2 separate regions of the Homo sapiens genome follow, and region 2 is linked to region 1. The links are contacts of gene promoters, found by promoter capture Hi-C in blood cells and fetal thymus (Javierre and others, 2016). All regions are on one chromosome and are shown on one strand. The core of a region is centred on a gene start or on the middle of the fragment in contact, and the rest is flanking DNA. Distances in the headings are between cores, read along the strand shown. Region 1 holds the start of MEGF10 (multiple EGF like domains 10). Region 2 holds the start of PRRC1 (proline rich coiled-coil 1).

What was found. The method cuts DNA at HindIII sites, captures the fragments that hold promoters and counts their contacts. A CHiCAGO score of 5 or more calls a contact.
Region 2: the fragment with the promoter of PRRC1 here is called in contact with the fragment with the promoter of MEGF10 in region 1 in 5 of 17 cell types (megakaryocytes, endothelial precursors, erythroblasts and 2 more); the score reaches 10.2 in megakaryocytes.

What each region holds. Positions count from the first base shown.
Region 1 is chr5:127,289,266-127,292,664 of GRCh38, reverse strand. It overlaps MEGF10 (multiple EGF like domains 10), which reads right to left and starts at 1,869. Exons shown (of 25, transcript NM_001256545.2): 1 at 1,609-1,869. LOC105379199 reads left to right here and starts at 1,929. Exons shown (of 4, transcript XR_007058921.1): 1 at 1,929-2,087. The HindIII fragment of the contact is 5,574 bases long and covers 126-3,399 here.
Region 2 is chr5:127,516,123-127,519,521 of GRCh38, reverse strand. PRRC1 (proline rich coiled-coil 1) reads right to left here and starts at 1,882. Exons shown (of 9, transcript NM_130809.5): 1 at 1,746-1,882. RefSeq lists an enhancer at 1,705-1,884 and a silencer at 1,945-2,014. The HindIII fragment of the contact is 4,735 bases long and covers 1,226-3,399 here.

The DNA of each region.
Region 1 (3,399 bases), core at 620-3,119:
CCACCACCCTATAAATTCCAGCTCTGCCATATACACCTTTATTTTTCCAACTGAAAGTGCCACAACAAAAAAGCAATACAAAGATCATGTCTGAGCTAAGTTTGACAATAGGTGGTAGTGAAGCTTACAGATGAGCACAGTCTTCAAAGTCCATCCAAATAGGAATAATAGCTAACACTTACTGACAGCTAATAGAAGCTATACTAGAGGGATACAACAATAGTTAATGCTAGCTATACAATAATAATAAAGCTAATTTGTGCCTACTATGTGTCAGGCTTGTTAGTCCTTCACATGCATTAACTTACTTAATCCCTTTAACAATTGTCTGATGTAAGTGCTATTATTATCATTTTGATTTTACATATGTGGATAAACAGATTAAGTAACTTACCCCAAAATCACAGAACTGAAAAGTGGCAGAGTTGTGAGCTGAACCCAGGCTGGCGGGTGCCCAGAGTTTACCAACTGAACTCTTTGAACTCTCAGTGGTAAAATTAAAAGTTCCCTGCAAGCTGACCTCTTGGAGCACTCGTGTCAGGAAGATGACATTTCTGGATAATATAAATTGGCCCCAGTATTTCTGTCCATAAGGAATGAAGCATTTTTATTTGGGAACCCTATACACAAAGTGAGACCCAGGATATAAAGGAGTAAGGCAAGAAGAACAAGAAGAAATGTCATTCTCTTCTGCCTTGGCACAGCATGGTTATCACAGCCTAAGAACAATAATAATGGCTAATTTTGGCTAATAAGATCTCCAACTTTGACTTTCTCCTAAATAATGTGGGTCCTTGCGTGAGGATATTTTCTAAAGAAGCAGCAAAGATATTGCCATCATTCATTTGCTCAGTGGTGTCACTAAGAAAAATACTTCCAGAAAGAAAATTAAGGCCAAAACACTTCCTTAAACCAGGCGTAAAAGTCCTCTAACAAGGAATTTAAAAGAAAAAGATCAACACCGGATTTATCTTTCTTAAGTAACTATCACTTGAAAAACCGTCCCTCCCAGCACTCCTTAAGGAGCCAAGCATACTGACAAGGCCCCTTTGGTCTAAGACTGCGACCTCACACCCCTACTGATCGCTGAGAACTCAGGAAAGGGGAGCATCCCGCCAGCCTAGAGCGTTATCTGCACAATCTGAATACCAAGGACGGGAGAAAGAGAAGTTTAGAAAACAGTGAAGATCCCAGAAAGGAAGTTCAACTGACCTAGAAGAAAGGGCCCAGCTGAAACTGCCTTTCAAGCTCAGTCCGATTCCCCACAAATCTCCCTACATCCAGCTATATCGCCCGGCAAAATGAAACAAACACAAGGTAAGGCAATACAAGGGCAGGAATTATGCAAAATAAAATGCGTAATGAGGATGTCTCTCCATCAAAAATACTCCAGGATTTTCCTACACAATCCCATGTAACAAAACCAAATGCAAACAACAATAAACCCTTAAGAAGCGCATGAACAACGCAGACTGAGCCCATCTCGCCCCACCTCACGCCGCACCCCGGTACCCTGGCTAAGGAAAATGTGACCCCCGCCCATGAGAAGCCTTCCGGCGTCCGGCCAAGGTCCAGGAGCCGCCGGAGTTGAGTTTGCCCAACTCTTACCCAGGTCCAGAGATCTTGAGAATCGCAGCGCAACCTTTTCTCCCCGGTCTTCACCCAAAGCCAGCCAAGACACAAAATCTGTTCCAATCAACGCGGTTAGCGTCCAAGCAGCGTCCCAGAAGAAAGCAATCTTTGGGAGTCTTCTTTCAGGCGTAAAGGTGGAGAAGCGGGAAAGAGGAACGTCTCAACGCGTTCCCAGTCGCCCAGTTTTGCGCACCGGGAAAGTACTTGCTGCAAACTTGAACAAGGTTTTCTCTGTCTGGCCCGAGATGCTGGAGGGGGTGGGGGCGGGTAACCCGAGCCGGGGCCGGGATTCGAGCAGTTGCCGCTGCTGCAGCTGCTGCTGCCGGGGCAGTGGCCGCTGGGGGGTTGTCGCTTGGCGCCGCGCGCAGTCCCTAGCGCAACATGCAGGATCTTCCCGGCCTGACTGCTGCACCTCGATCGTGAGTCGCCCCTGCCTGAGCGGCTTCCACCGCCTGGTGGGTGACCCCGCCAAAGGCCTGGTCGCGAAGTTAGCAAATGTTGGGGTCACCGCAGGGGGTGACCGAAGGGGTGTCAGAGTGGGTGCCCGCCTGATTCCCAACCCACGTTGGGTGCAAGTCCCTCGGCAGAGTCCCTGGGAGGTGTTCTAGACCCTCTGTAAGGATTTGTGGGACGGTGGCCGGCGCCCGAGCGGCCAACTGGAGTGGACGGCGGGTCCTCAGTGGTGTCAGGGGAGAAAGCGCAAAGGTGGGACCCAGAAAGGATGGTGATTAAGCCGTGCCAGAGAATGTGATGTGGCAGCAAAGTACATGGAAAGGTGGGGCGGGGAGGTGAAGGCAGAGGGTGGAGGGTGGGATAGTCTGCTTTACCATGGAGGGGCGGAGAGAGAACTCCCCGGACGCGCAGGAAAATCCCCCCAGGTCCTCGGAGGCCTCGCGCGGCAATTTATTGGGGAATGGCTCCCTCTGCCGACTCGCCGAGGAGGCCCCGGGAGGCCCAGTGATGGAATGTTAAAACCATGAACGGGCTTTTCCATTTGTGGGTTAGACAGGACATGAATTCTGGAATCTGCTTCTCTGACTGTCCATCTTCCTCTTCCAGACTAAAGAGTTTTCCAGCTTTTACAGGACCCCAAAAGATACAAATTTGACTGCTGCAAAGTTCTTTCTTGTGTCGTTGAATTCTATCCCCCTCTCCCCACAAAAAAACAAAAACAGGTTTAAGCCCCATAACCACTCCAGGTAACCATCTCCTACCAGGCTTCTCTTCCTCCCATTAATAAGAACTCTTTCTTTTTAGAGAGACTTCAAGAGCGTTCGAGTCCCTACTCAATAACGCTCCTGGAAAATAGTACAGACTCCATATTATGTTTGAGTGAATAAATGAATGGAATGAATGAACATAGATATGTTTGAAGCCCCTCACCATCCTCTTTACTCTCCCTGGAAATACACAGGGGAAGACTGTTTTGGTGTTTGTTTATTTGTTTGTTTAGCAGTCATCATTGCCCCTTCTCTGGTAACAGTACCTCCATTTTTCTTTGAGATACCATCCCTGCCACAAGGACAGCAGTCTGGGTGGAAGGTCAGTCAGGATGGTCCAGCTTTTCCCTGTCCAGAAGAGAGCAACTGACCTCAGCTAAGCCCCTCAGGCCCTCTCTGCCAGGAGTTGGAACTTTGATCTGGGCAGCACAGGCACAAATAATTCTAGAGGTGATTAATCCATATGGCTGTTTTCTAAGGAAATTGGCTGTTAGTTCATGCCACTTATTACCCAAAGATATTTTGCTTTATGAAACTTGGTTGCCCC
Region 2 (3,399 bases), core at 633-3,132, 230 kb before region 1:
GAAGCCAAATAGGATACTATCTGAGAAGTTCAATGGATCTGCCAAACTGGAGATGAATTTAGGGAGAACGGTTTTCATATAAAGAGTGGAGAAAGATTCCAGTGTAAACTGAATCGAGCAGTGGCAGGTGAGACTAACACGCATGACACTTTCAAAAAGTTTGGCTGTGAACGTAGGAAAGATCTATGGCACTAAGCAGAGAACAGGGATCCGGGGAGGCTGAATCCTTTCATTCAGTACCTATACATCGAAGGTAAATAACCTGAGATAGAAATGCCCCTTTGGAGATTTTACCACTCCTCAACCAAAGCTCCCTCTTTTCTTCATTTAATTTTTTATTGGTCATTCACCCTCTACTACAGATGCTCCCCAATCCTTACAATGACTAGTAGAAGTCCTATTGTAAGAGAATCCCTAACATTAACAAATGTGTCTGCAAAAGAAACTGTACAATGAATACAAAGTCATTAAGTGGAATAAATAATCAATTTCTTTGTCTTTAATGGCTTTTTATATGAAAACTGCCGTAATGGCAATACTGAGGTAAATTTTACATGCATAAACATAGTGCCTTCTACTAAAAAAACCTATTATGATAAAACAATACTGAAGTGTCAGAGTTGGTAACTGTTTTAGGGCTCAAGTCTTGTCACGAAAAGTACTATTCATATATCAACACTAAAGAAAAAGTGAAGAAAATGGTTTGGAAAACTGAGTTCTCAGTCCGGCTAGACCCTGTTGTTCCAATTTGCTTGTGCCTTGGTTTTTCTGTTAAAAAAAAAAAAAAAAAGTGGATGTCTATTTACAAGTTTACAAGAAATGGAAGAGTGAAGCTCTGATAAACTTTAAAGCATTAAGAGCAATTATTGCTGACCTACTCGTGCCACAAGATTGTCTCTACTACCAAACAGTGAGCGCTAGTTAGAGCCTAATCTGACCCCGAAATAAAATTTTATAAATTTTCACTGAATTAAACACTGGCTGCACAGGAGAAAGACTGAATGCCAAGATGTGTCACGATCGCAGAAATGCACATGTTGTCTCTCAAAATAACTACTTCGAATGACAAAAACACTATTGGCTATAAATTCTGTCAATCTAGGAAACGTGCTATCTGCAAATTTGCCTGAAGCAGGTCCCAAGACCAAACAAAGAAACGAGAGAATGCAAAAACTCTCCCAAGCGGCGCTAAGCACCGATGGGGTAACCTCAGGGAAAATAAGCTTCCTTTCATTGCAGGTCCTGGTGTGATGACTCTCGAGCCTCCTGGGCCTCTCCAGGGCCAGAGCGGCCGAAATCCTGTTTCAGGAGACAGCGGCTTCCCCTCAGGCTCTGCCACGTCTCCAGGCCAGACAGGGCCGGGCTAAGGTCCGCCGGCGCTCCCGCCAGTCTCCCCTAAAGTCAGCGCCCTGGAAGGTGGGGCCAGAGCGCTCCTGCCTTGGTCCTTGGACAGGAGCAAAGTGTCGCGGGGCGAGACCCTCGAACCGCGCCCACCGTGCCATCCCCAGCGGAAACTGCTCACCTTGCGATGTGCACTCCTGCCTGCTGCACCCCGCACGCCGCCACAGCTGAGCCTGGACCACGGGACTAGGGGGCTCGCAAACGACATCGGCGTCCAGTGGCGCCGGCCGGCCCGCCCACCTTCCAGGGACACCGTCCCTCGGGGTCTGGCTCTGGCGCCTGCAAGCCATGCCATGCCATGCCACCCCCCTCATACACGCCCCTCGGAGCCACCTGGCGCTCACCTGGGGACCGGGAAAGTGCCTGCGTGGTCGCTGAAGAGTGTGGTATGATAGGGAGGTCGGGACGTAGAACTACAGCTTGGAGAAGACAACGAAGGCGCACCCTGGAAGTTACCTCGGCGTGTCCCCGCCTACAAGATGGCCACGGGCGGCGCATGCTCCTGCGGCTGCCACGTCGGCCGCGCGCCGCACCGCGCCGCGCGTCGCCGCCCCGCCCCGCTCCGCCCCGCATCGCATCGCCCCGCTCCGCCTCCGCATCGCCCCGCCCCCCCTGTCCCATGCGCTGTGAACCCGGCCGGGACGCTGCAAGTTAAACTTTGGAGCCAAGATCTTCCTAACTACCGAGACTTGGTTCTGCCCACACCCTCTAGAAACATCTTCCAAAGGGCTGGCCTCCTTTCTACTTCGCAGCCCCCTTACACGAGAGTGGCACTCTTGTTACCAGGCGTAGCTCACTCATCCTGTGCCACAGCGGCCCAAGGGATAAGATCAGTTAGCCAAGGTCATCTGGTTGGCGGTCATCTAGCCAACATCAGCTAGTCCAGTCAGCACCTCCAGGAAGGACCTCGCGGCAGATACAGGGGACTTAGCCTGTATAGTCAAAGATTTCCAGATAACAGTGATTATATCAGGAGAGAGGGATTAGGAGAAGAGGGAGAGGGGAGAAGAGTAGCAGTTACTGTACTGAATTTTTCCCCAAGTGCATGTATTGCACATTCTTTTTTTAATTGTAAAATAGACAGATTATCAACTTTCTTATTATATGCTGCACCTAACACAGTACCTGAAATAGTTGGTGTTCAATAATGTACATTAAATAAATTAATGGAGTGCGATAGAGGAAAATAAGGAACTTCAAATCAGAAGTCTTGATTTGAGTCTGAGACTACTCTAATGCCAGTTGTACAGTTGCCTGCCCTTGTACAGGTCACTTAGTCTCCATAAGTCTTCATATTTCTACCTGCAAACTGAGAATAATACTATCCACCATCCCTAAATCAGGCAGGTGACAGACTCAAATAAAATAGAGCATATGAAAATTTTTTAAACTTTTTGTCTTTTTGAGATGGTGTCTTGCCCTGTTGCCCAGGCTGGAGTGCAATGGCGCCATCTCGGCTCACTGCAACCTCTGCCTCCCGGGTTCAAACGATTCTCCTGCCTCAGCCTCCCGAGTAGCTGGGATTACAGGCACAGGCCACCACACCCAGCTAATTTTTGTACTTTTAGTAGAGACAGGGTTTCACCATTTTGGCCAGGCTGGTCTCGAACTCCTGACCTCGGCCCGCCTCGGCCTCCTAAAGTGCTGGGATTACAGGCGTGAGCCACCGCACCTGTCCGAAAACATTTTTTAAATTGCTTAGCATTAAATATATAAAAAATTGTTTTTGTTGTTCTCAATTTTTTTTCAGGAACTCACTTAGAGATTTCACATTAATCTATCTCTTGAGCTTCACAGTTGTAAGCATTCCAAAATACCTCACTGAAAAGTTAATACTATGTAGCAATACTCTGACTTCAGATCTCACTGTGCAACTACCATGGGCGGTTTTCTTTGGCGGTGGCTCCTATCCTCTAAGAATGTGTGTAGGTGGAGATCCAGGTTACTGTCCGGATCGTGCTGTTTGGGGTGGTGCTAAAGACAGATAACCATCTTCAT